2 separate regions of the Homo sapiens genome follow, and region 1 is linked to region 2. Evidence: promoter capture Hi-C in 16 types of primary human blood cells and fetal thymus (Javierre and others, 2016). All regions are on one chromosome and are shown on one strand. Each heading gives the region's core, a stretch centred on a gene start or on the middle of the fragment in contact. The rest is flanking DNA. Distances are from core to core; before and after follow the strand shown. Region 1 overlaps TRIM38 (tripartite motif containing 38). Region 2 holds the start of GMNN (geminin DNA replication inhibitor).

Region 1 (4,868 bases), core at 239-2,738, 1.2 Mb before region 2:
TTCCTCCTCTATAAAGCAAAAATGCCCCATATAGAGAGGACTGTGATATAAAACAAGAACCAAGAAAAGTAAAGCTTTTCTAATCTGTCACAGACTAAAGAGTGCTCAGTATATGTGAGTCATTATTCCTGGTGCTGGTAGGAGTGTATGTTACAACTTTGAGTCAAGTAATATGGTACCATATATTAAGATTAACAACAACCTCGGCAATCCCAGTTTGGGGTATGTTCCCAAAAGAAATGAAAGCACCAGGATATAAGGATGCATGGACTAGAAAGTTATTGTAGCAACATTGTAATAACTAAGTTCTAAAAACAGCCTGAAGCTCCATCAGTAGGGATATGGTTACATATATTTATTATATTCTTATGGAATATTAGACATAAAAAGTAACGAGTAACATAGAAGAGACAGTGTATATATGTTACGTTTGTACAAACTTAGGGAAAGATATAGATCACCCTACCTAGAGAAGTCAGATTGGAGACGGGTGGGAAAAACCTTGAACTTTCTCCTTATATCCTTTATATTGTTTGACTGATTAAAATGTATTTGTTGCATCTGCTTGAAGGCAATGTAAAATAAAATAAACATACATTTAAAAATAAAAATAAAATTTATTCCTATCACTTTTGTAATAAAGCTGGGCACAGTGACTAACACTTGTAATCCTAGCACTTTGGGAGGCAGAGACAGGCAGATCACCTGAGGTCAGGGGTTTGAGACCAGCCTGGCCAACATTGTGAAACCCCATCTCTACTAAAAATACAAAAATCAGCCAGGCATAGTGGTGCGTACCTGTAATCCCACGCTACCCGGGAGGCTGAGGCGCTGGAACCCAGGAGGCAGAGGCTGCAGTGAGCTGAGATTGCGGCACTGCAAGCCAGCCTGGGTAACAGCGAGACTCCATCTCAAAAAAAAATTTGAAAAAAGAAAAATTTTAATAAACAGTGTTTAAGAGGGGAGAAATATTTAGTTAAAAGATAAGCCCATTTAAGAAATAGTTTCACTTGACCCGGAAGGCGGAGCTTGCAGTGAGCCGAGATCGCACCACTGCACTCCAGCCTGGGCGACAGAGCGAGACTCTGTCTCAAAAAAAAAAAAAAAGAAAGAAAGAAAGAAAGAAATAGTTTCACTTGAACCATATTATGATTCCTTCTGTAAAAGATGAGAGTAGGCAAATTGACTCAGTGAAATCCCAGCAAAACTTACACAAAGTCTTGTTCTTCCTTCCTGTCATCTGTATAGGATGAAATACAGAGTGCTTTTGGGTTTTGTTGTTGTTTGTTGTTGTGTATTTGAGGGGAACACAGGTCTATAATTCCTTTTCTGAAATCCCTGGAACAAAATGGGCTTTGCCATTCAAATTAGTTTAGAAGTTATAAAGGCAAAAAAATGCATATACTCTAAAGTTCAACCCCATCATGGCCTAAGGCAGAGCCCTGTAATCAAATTCATCAATATATCTGCAGCAAAACATTTATTCAAATTAAGTGGGATAAATAAAGACTTTTAAATAGTCTCATCTCAGTGCCGTTCAGGGTTGGCCACTGTGGAAGACAGACTCAAGGGTGGCCTTCTATGATTCCTGCCTCTTGGTGTTCACACCCTCGTAAAATTCCTTGTCTTTGAGTGTGAGCAGGGCTTATGAATTGCTTCTGACCAATAGGATATGGCAAAGATGATGGGATATAATTTCTATGATTACGTTTCATTATGTAAGACTCCATCTTGCTGGCAGATTTTCTCTAAAGAGTCTGTCTCCTGAGCTCTCTCTGAAGAAATAACTGGCCATGTTAGAAGCCCATGTGCAAAGAGCTGAGGGGTGGCCTGTAGAAGCTGTGGGCAACCTCCAGCCAACAGCCAGAAATAACCAGGGCCAAAGTCCTGCAACCATCAGGAAAGAAATTCTGCCTGCTACCTCAGTGAGCTTGGAAGTGGATTCTTCCTTAGCCTAGCCTCCAGATAAGAACACAGCCTGACCAACACCTTAACTGCAGCCTTATCAGACCCTAAGCAGCAGGCCCAACTAAGCTGTGCCCAGATTCCTGAACCACAAAAATTGAGATAACATATCAGTGTTGTATTAAGGTTCTAAATTATGGTAATTTGTTTGTACTAATAGATAACTAATATAACCACCAAATCATTTCAGGTTAGGCCAGATTTTTGTAGCCAAATGAATCATGATAAAACTTTCCATTTTCAGGGGTTTTTTTGATTTTGTACTTACGGATACAAATTTGTGAAAGTATAGTCAGCACTGATTTAAAAAATCAAGGGAGCAGGAAACTCAGTAAATGGTTCTAACATTTTGGAATCTGTAAATTGGTTGTAACATTTGTCATCTGTGTTATCTAAGTCAAGTTCCTAAAATATGTGAATGATAGGTTATCATACTCACCTACTTTTCTTGCATTGCTCTAAGAGTTGGCTGAGCTATTGATAATAAACACTATGATCAGATCTAATACCATGATGTGCTATTATGATCATGTGTCAGTCACAGGGCTAAGCACTTTGTACATGTTGATGCATTTAATTTTGATGATAACTCAATGAAGTAGGAGCTGTTAATATTTTCATTTTTCAGAGGGGGAAACCAAGTCACTTGGAGTAACATGGCTAATAAGTGAAAGAATAAGAATTTGAAAGGTTTGCACAGATAACCAGAATGCAATGCTCATCACATTCACTGAGCAGTGAATCATACTAACTAGAGAAAGTATGAAAGCTCTACTGAAATTAACTAAACAACCTCTCTGGCTGTGAGCCTGCCAAGGGACAGGTGGTAAACTTGGTTACTGCATAAGGCCCCTTCTATCCACAGTATTCAGGAATTCTTTAGTGAACATACCTTGATGACTCCTTAACATTTTCTTCACATCGAAGTAAAGCTTGGAAACATTGCACATAGTATGAAGTTCCAAGGAGACAGCCTCTGATGTTTCCAGCTTCACAGCCCAACTCCTAGAATAAGCAGAGGCGAGAGATTTCTTCAGAGGTGCATTCCATTCATTTCTATATACGCACACCCCTCCCCTCCTGCATTCAAACAGGACTTACCTGCTCAAAGTGTCATTCACATTCTATAAAGAAACAAAAAGAAAAGGTGAGCATGGGAACATCGGTATTTCATGGGGCTTGTCATGCAGGGCTATTCTTCTTTGCTTTACCCGAAGAAGTAAAGAGAGTTACCCTAGTCTTAGTCTTAGATATTGATGGATACTCAAACAAAGTAATTCCCACCAGTCTTAGGTATTGATGGATACCCAGATGGAATAATTCCTACCAGCTTCTGGGAGATTCAGCATGGCAGGATGTTTATCAACATTTGCATCTATTCTCATCCTTGCTGAAGTCTGAGGGCCAGGAGCTTTGTCCATGCTCCCTCTGTAAGGACTAGCTTTTGGTGATCGGATTTCCTTCACAGTGAGCCCAGATTAGAGAACACTTATCATAAAGGTCCTTAGTGGTGAATCTGTGCACAGCCCTGAGACTGGGCCACTGCCACTAAGATGGTGGTAGCAGGTATCACACAGTGGTAAAGCAATCATGCTATACACTCAGCCTTACAGTATAGTCACCAATCCTGTTAGTTAGAACCAGAATTAATGGCTCCAGATGTTTATCTTCCTACAGATAAAGCTGTAGATTGTACCATAACAGCTCTGGAGCAAGGGTTCTACAAGCAAATCAGGGAAAAGGTTATCACTCATTTTGGCTGCCCCACTTCATCACCCATCAGTCACCTAGTGGAGTATTTCAGGAGAGAGTCAACAACCAGGGTTCTCTGCACATGGGCCAAGGAGGCAAACAGTGGTAAATGTTATCCCGTGGTTTCATTTGGCCAAGCTGTGTTCCCTCAGAAGTTTATTTTTCTAATTGACATAAAGGTACCCTATAAATTAGTGAAGGCCAGCCTGATGGCACTGATGTACATCTAAAAGAAACATTACTTTATCTTCCCATGCTTCCTTACCATTCTCCTTTAATAGCACTATAACATACCTTTTTTCCCTACTCCAAGTACACAGCCTCACCTGCAGCAATTTCTGGGCTGAGCCCTGACATTTTTCCTCCAGTTCCAGGATGTGGCTCTTGAGTTCATTGCTCTTCAGCCCCAGACCAGCCTCATAGTCCCTCAGTCTACTCAGAGTCTGTTGTTCTTCTTTCTCCAGCCTCCAGAGATAAGACTTCTCTTCCTCATGTAGGAAACACTGGAGATTCTTAAAGTCAGACCGGATTTTTTGTCTCTGAATCTGTACCTTCTCCTGGAGTCAAGAAAGTATGGTCAAAAGGTGGAAGTAAACCAAATGTCCATCTATGGATGAATGGATAAACAAGAATGAAAGTCTGACACACGCTACTACATGACAAGCCTTGAAGACATTCAAGCAAAATAAGCCAGAAACAAAAGGGCAAATATTGTAAGACTTTGCTTATACAAGGCATCTGGAGTAGTTAAGTTCATAGAGACAGAAAGTAAAATAGTGGTTACAAGGTGTTGGCAAGACCAGAAAATGGACAGTTATTGTTTAATGGGTAGTGAGTTTCAGTTTAGAAGATGAAAGATGAAACTGAGTTGCAGTTTGGAGATGGGAATGGTGATGGTTGCACAACAATGTAACAATGTAAAAGCACTTAATTCTACTGAACTATATACTTAAAAGTGGTTAAATGCTTAAGTGTTATATATATTTTCACACAAACACACACACACACACAATCAGCCACTGGGACATTATTTTCTCATGAGTCACTGAAGCTGGAAGAATGTCCCCAGTTTCCTGCTGCAGAGTCATGTGTGGGAGGCAGGCACTCAGATGTGGAAGAGGTTGCCTCAGATTCCTTATAGTCACCCAATT
Region 2 (4,802 bases), core at 2,148-4,647:
AGGGTCTCCCTTTGTTGCCCAGGCTGTTCTCAAAGTCCAGAGCTCAATCAATCCTCCTACTTCAGCCTCCCAAGTAGCTGGGATCACAGGCATGAGCCACCATGGGCACCTGGCTCTTTATTTATTTAAAACCGCAAATTGATAGTTTACCTGAAGATGTGATCCAATTCCCAAGGTATTCATATAATTTAAGTTGTGTGGAAGGACCTAGCTAAATTGTAAATTAACTTAGAACCATAAATATGAATCTAGTCAGAAGTATAAACTCAAAACTAAACAAACTCTGTCCTGCTGTCATAAGAGTAAATACTTGGAATAAGATTTCCAGTGAAAGTATCATATAGGGATTGAAAAAGTATCACAAATCAAATAGGTTAGATGGTAATGAATATGGTATACTCTAGAAAAATGTGTAATATAATGCAAAACATGTCTGTGGTCAAAGACTCTTAATTCTGAAGATATACACAATGGATTTTAATAACATTTCATGAAATATAAGAGTAGAAACAAAGCAGTAATAATCTCATACATAGAAAATCCTAAAGATACTTCTGGAATCTTCACAGAGAAAATACAAAAAGAAAAGAAAATCCTGAAGAATCTACTAAAAAACAATTAGAACTATTAAGTTCAGCAAGGTTTCAGGACACAAAATCAAGACACAAAAGTCAATTATTTTCCTATACAGTAGCAATGACCAAATGAGAATGAAATTAAGGAAACAATTCCATTCACAGTAACCTCAAAAAGAATACTTAGGAAAAAATTTAACATAAATAGTGTAAAATTCATGCTCTGAAAACTACAAAATACTGTTGAAAGACCAAAATAAGAGAGACAACCCATATTCTTGGGTCAGACTTAATATTCAACCGTAATTAGTTTTTTAAAAATGTTCTCTATTGTTACTCATCCTCTGACTAACTCAAGGCTTACAGAAATTATAGCCAGGCTAAATTTGGATAAATTATGTCAAAATACTTTTAGCCCCATGCTTTCTACAAAAAAAAATTAAAGTTATTCAATCACATACCTTTATATTCTCTTTGATTTCTTCTTGTTTCTGCTTCATACTGGGATTCATTATGTAGATGGTGAAGCACAGAAGACTAGTAATTAAAAAACAATATGGTTTGCACCCCCGAAGGTGGAGTCTAGGTTTAAAATACTTACAATCATAAAAATTATACTATTGTACAGTAGAACTATTATTTTTTCTCTCTTAATCCAAACTCAGCCCTGTCAATGACTAAGGTGACTAAAGTTAATGACTCTTGATATCTATATTTTACATATATACACACATAATAATTATAGCTGAAAAAATGAAATTAATGTATTTTAAACCAATTTCTAAAACTGGTTTAAAATTTCTAAACATATTGTCCTGGATTAAATAGTCACCAGAAAAAGCAAAATAAACAGATACTAGGGTATGCCCAGGTCCATCCTAAAGAGCAGCATCTTAACTTTCCTGATTCAAAGACAGATTTAAGGTATAATAAACTGGGCTCTGACAATAACTTAACACAGACTTAATATCTGGTCAAATGAGATCATGCATTTACATTTGTAGGAAATGTTTAACCAGTAACATGAACTGAAGGACTAACAAGCAAGAAAGAGGGAAAAGGTAGAAAGGGATCTATGTAATGCGGTTGACTAGACCACTGGGCCAAACTCAGCATCTGAACTGCTGCTCCACTGCCCACTGCCCACTGCCCACTACCCATTGGCCCCTGCCGTGTCTGCGCCTGTGCCTCGTCGATAGATGTCCCTAATTTTTGTGGCCATGCCTTTACTCAGTGCAGTGGCTTCTAACATTAATACATTTTACCTTGTGTCCTGGCGCGTGCACACACATGTGCAAACAAAAAAGCTTAGGAAAGGCCGGGCGTGGTGGCTCACATCTGTAATCCCAGCACTTTGGGAGGTCGAGGCAGGCGGATCACCTGCATGATCACCAAAGTGCTGGAAGGTCGAGGCAAGCGGATCACCTGAGGTCAGAAGTTCGAAACCAGCCTGGCCAATATGGTGAAACTCCATCTCTACCAAAAATACAAAAATTAGCCGGACGTGGTGGTGCTCGTCTGTAGTCCCAGCTACTCGGGAGGCTGAGGCAGGAGTATCGCTTGAACCCGACAGGTGGAGGTGGCAGTGAGCCGAGATCCTGCCACTGCACTCCAGCCTGGGCAACAGAGCGAGACTCCGTCTCAAAAAAAAAAAAAGCTTAGAAAACAAAACAATCTAATTTGTGCGGGCATCCTGCTATTTTCTACTCTATTTCATGTTAAGAAAATGGTGTTCGGGCCCCAGTAAACAGACCCTACGCAATGTTCTTCAAACTGCGGGTCGCGGGCCGTGATCTCGAAATTAGTGAGTCATGAGCAACACTGCTTAGAAAAATGCAACTGAACAGAATGGAATTGAAGAGACGAGAAACATTGCTTCCATCACGTCTCATTTGGTTAGATAGCTGTGTCCTAGGTTGCGACGTAAAACGTACCTTAGTGTGAAAAAAGCTGAAAGCCACTTAGCATTCTAATCCTTCACAAGTTTCCCACGCCTGTCAGCGACCTTGCAACCCTTACTTGTTATTCTCCAGTTCCTTTAATAGCTAGATTAAAAACCCTGGCACAGGACAGGGTCCATGCGAAACCCGTATCAACAACGCCAGTATCCGTTTAATGGGAGACGCAGAATTCAGCCACCTCTTTCCATGAGCCAAATTTGCAGATCCCTCAGATCAGGACCAGCCACTTAACTGCCAAGAGGATGGATGCTTCGCCTCATCCCCACAGCTGGCAAGCCCAGGCTGAGTCCCTTACCCGCGTTGCAGTCCCCAAGCCCGGACCCAGCCAACTTGTCCCGGAGGCCCAGCGCCAGGCTAGGGGGCGGGCAGTGTGGCCCCGCGCGTCCGAGCCTACCAACCGCGGCGCGCGCCTCGGGAACTGCGCCAGCCAGCCAATAGGAAGCGCGGAAGTGAGAGCGCGCCAAAACCGACCCAGCCAATGGGGCAGTCCCTCGACTCACCTCCCAACCCCGCCCCGGCTCCCGCGACCGTTCAACAACCCCTTCGCCCTTACCCAGGCCGCGGCCCTGCAGCTGTCAAAGTAGGACGCGGCTTCAGAGGTTGGCCGGAGGGAAAGCGAGTCGTCTAGAGGCTGTGCGCCTTGCGCCCCTGCGTACCCACTTCCTGCCGCCTCTTGCCCACTTACTGGGTGGAGACGCTCAATCCTCGTAGCGAACGCACGTAGCTATGGCTGCAGCACCTCGCAAAAGGCCACAGCTCACCTACGCTGATCCCCACGGTCGCTGGAGTGCCCGGCGCGCTCTGCAGTAAAGCCCTGCTAACTCCGCTCGCCCGCTCCGAACAACCACGTGACCAACTGACGCAGACGAGGGGCGGGGCCTCTGGATCCCGCGAATCGCCTCTTCCCTCGGCCCCGCCCCTTCCTGCGCCTGCGCGGTCAACGGTAGCGAGTACTTGAGGACCGTGGGGGTTTTCTGCGGGCTGGGAGGCCTGTGCCCTTTGACCCTCCCCTCCGACCCTGCTCTTGGAACTTCCTTAAAATGCAAAGTTTTAGCCCTTTACGAAAGGGAGAAAGATTTGCCTCCATTAGTCGTTAGCACCAGAAGAACAAAATATTGTATGTGCATATATATTAATATGTAGTACACGACATATATTTGTGTAAAGCCCTGGCTCCACGGACTCGTAGTTGTATTAGGGGCTTTTATATTTTGGCTTTTTGTGTTTTGACTATGGTGTGGTGCGGTAGGAATTGTTCAGGAGACAACCGATTATCAGTTAATCCTGCAGCTATTCATTGAGCGCCTTATACGTGCCAATTACTACTGTTCTAGGCACTGAAATTACAACTGCTGTTGCAATTTGAAGGAGCAGAAACACCTTGGTAATAATTACGTCTAGCCTTTTCCTTCTTTTTTTTTTTTTTAATTGAAACGGAGTCTCGCTCTGTCACCCAGGCTGGAGTGCAGTGGCGCGATCTCGGCTCACTGCAAGCTCCGCCTCCCGGGTTCAAGCGATTCTCCTGCCTCAGCCTCCCGAGTAGCTGGGACTACAGACAAAGGGAGACCCTGTCTCAAAAAAAAATTAATTTTAAAATATTTTAAAAATAAAAAGCAGAAGGAAGGCGTTATCGAGTACAAATAAGGGACATATTACCAAATGCAATGTATGGATCTCGTCTGAACTAAACACTGTATTTAAAAAAATACCCAAGGGAAATTTGAACACTGACTGAATATTTTGGGATGGTAAGATATGAGTTGTTTAAGGTTACCTGATGAGCAATGGGTTAAAAAAAGAGATTAGTTGTAATGACAATATTGTGGGTTTTATTGTAATAGCTTCTACCTATAAATGGTAATTACAGATGAAATTTTATACCATATATTTTATTTGAAATAATTATTGAGAGAAGCAAGGGAAAAGGTATAAATCAAGCTTTCTCAGTATGGGCTCTATTGACATTTTAGACTGGGCAAATTGTTCGTGGTGGGGGCTGTCCTGGGCATTGTATGCTGTTTAGCAGTATCCCTGGCCTCTACCCTCTAGCTACCAGGAGTACATCCCAATTGTGAAGACCAAAAATGTCTGCAGACCTTGTCAGATAACCTTCCGCAGGGCAAAATCATCCCCAGTTGAGAACCACTGGTGCGAATAAAACAGTATTGGCCTTGTGTTGATAACTGCTGAGGCTAGTATGGATGAGTACATGAAGATTTTTTATTCACTCCCTCTACTTTTATATCTGTTTGGGATTTTCAATAAT

The links. Contacts are between HindIII fragments. The CHiCAGO score rates a contact against its expected background, and 5 or more counts as called.
Region 1: a contact is called between a fragment that was not itself captured here and the fragment with the promoter of GMNN in region 2, in 1 of 17 cell types (monocytes). The highest score is 5.9, in monocytes.

Annotation. Positions count from the first base shown.
Region 1 is chr6:25,971,275-25,976,142 of GRCh38, reverse strand. TRIM38 (tripartite motif containing 38) reads right to left here. Exons shown (of 8, transcript NM_006355.5): 5 at 4,044-4,274; 6 at 3,067-3,089; 7 at 2,858-2,970. Among named protein-coding and RNA genes, the nearest start is that of TRIM38, 11 kb to the right of the region's middle. RefSeq lists an enhancer at 3,925-4,868. The HindIII fragment of the contact is 2,823 bases long and covers 77-2,899 here.
Region 2 is chr6:24,773,532-24,778,333 of GRCh38, reverse strand. It overlaps GMNN (geminin DNA replication inhibitor), which reads right to left and starts at 3,397. Exons shown (of 7, transcript NM_015895.5): 1 at 3,090-3,397; 2 at 1,037-1,112. The coding sequence starts at 1,087. RefSeq lists an enhancer at 2,403-2,482. The HindIII fragment of the contact is 2,242 bases long and covers 2,235-4,476 here.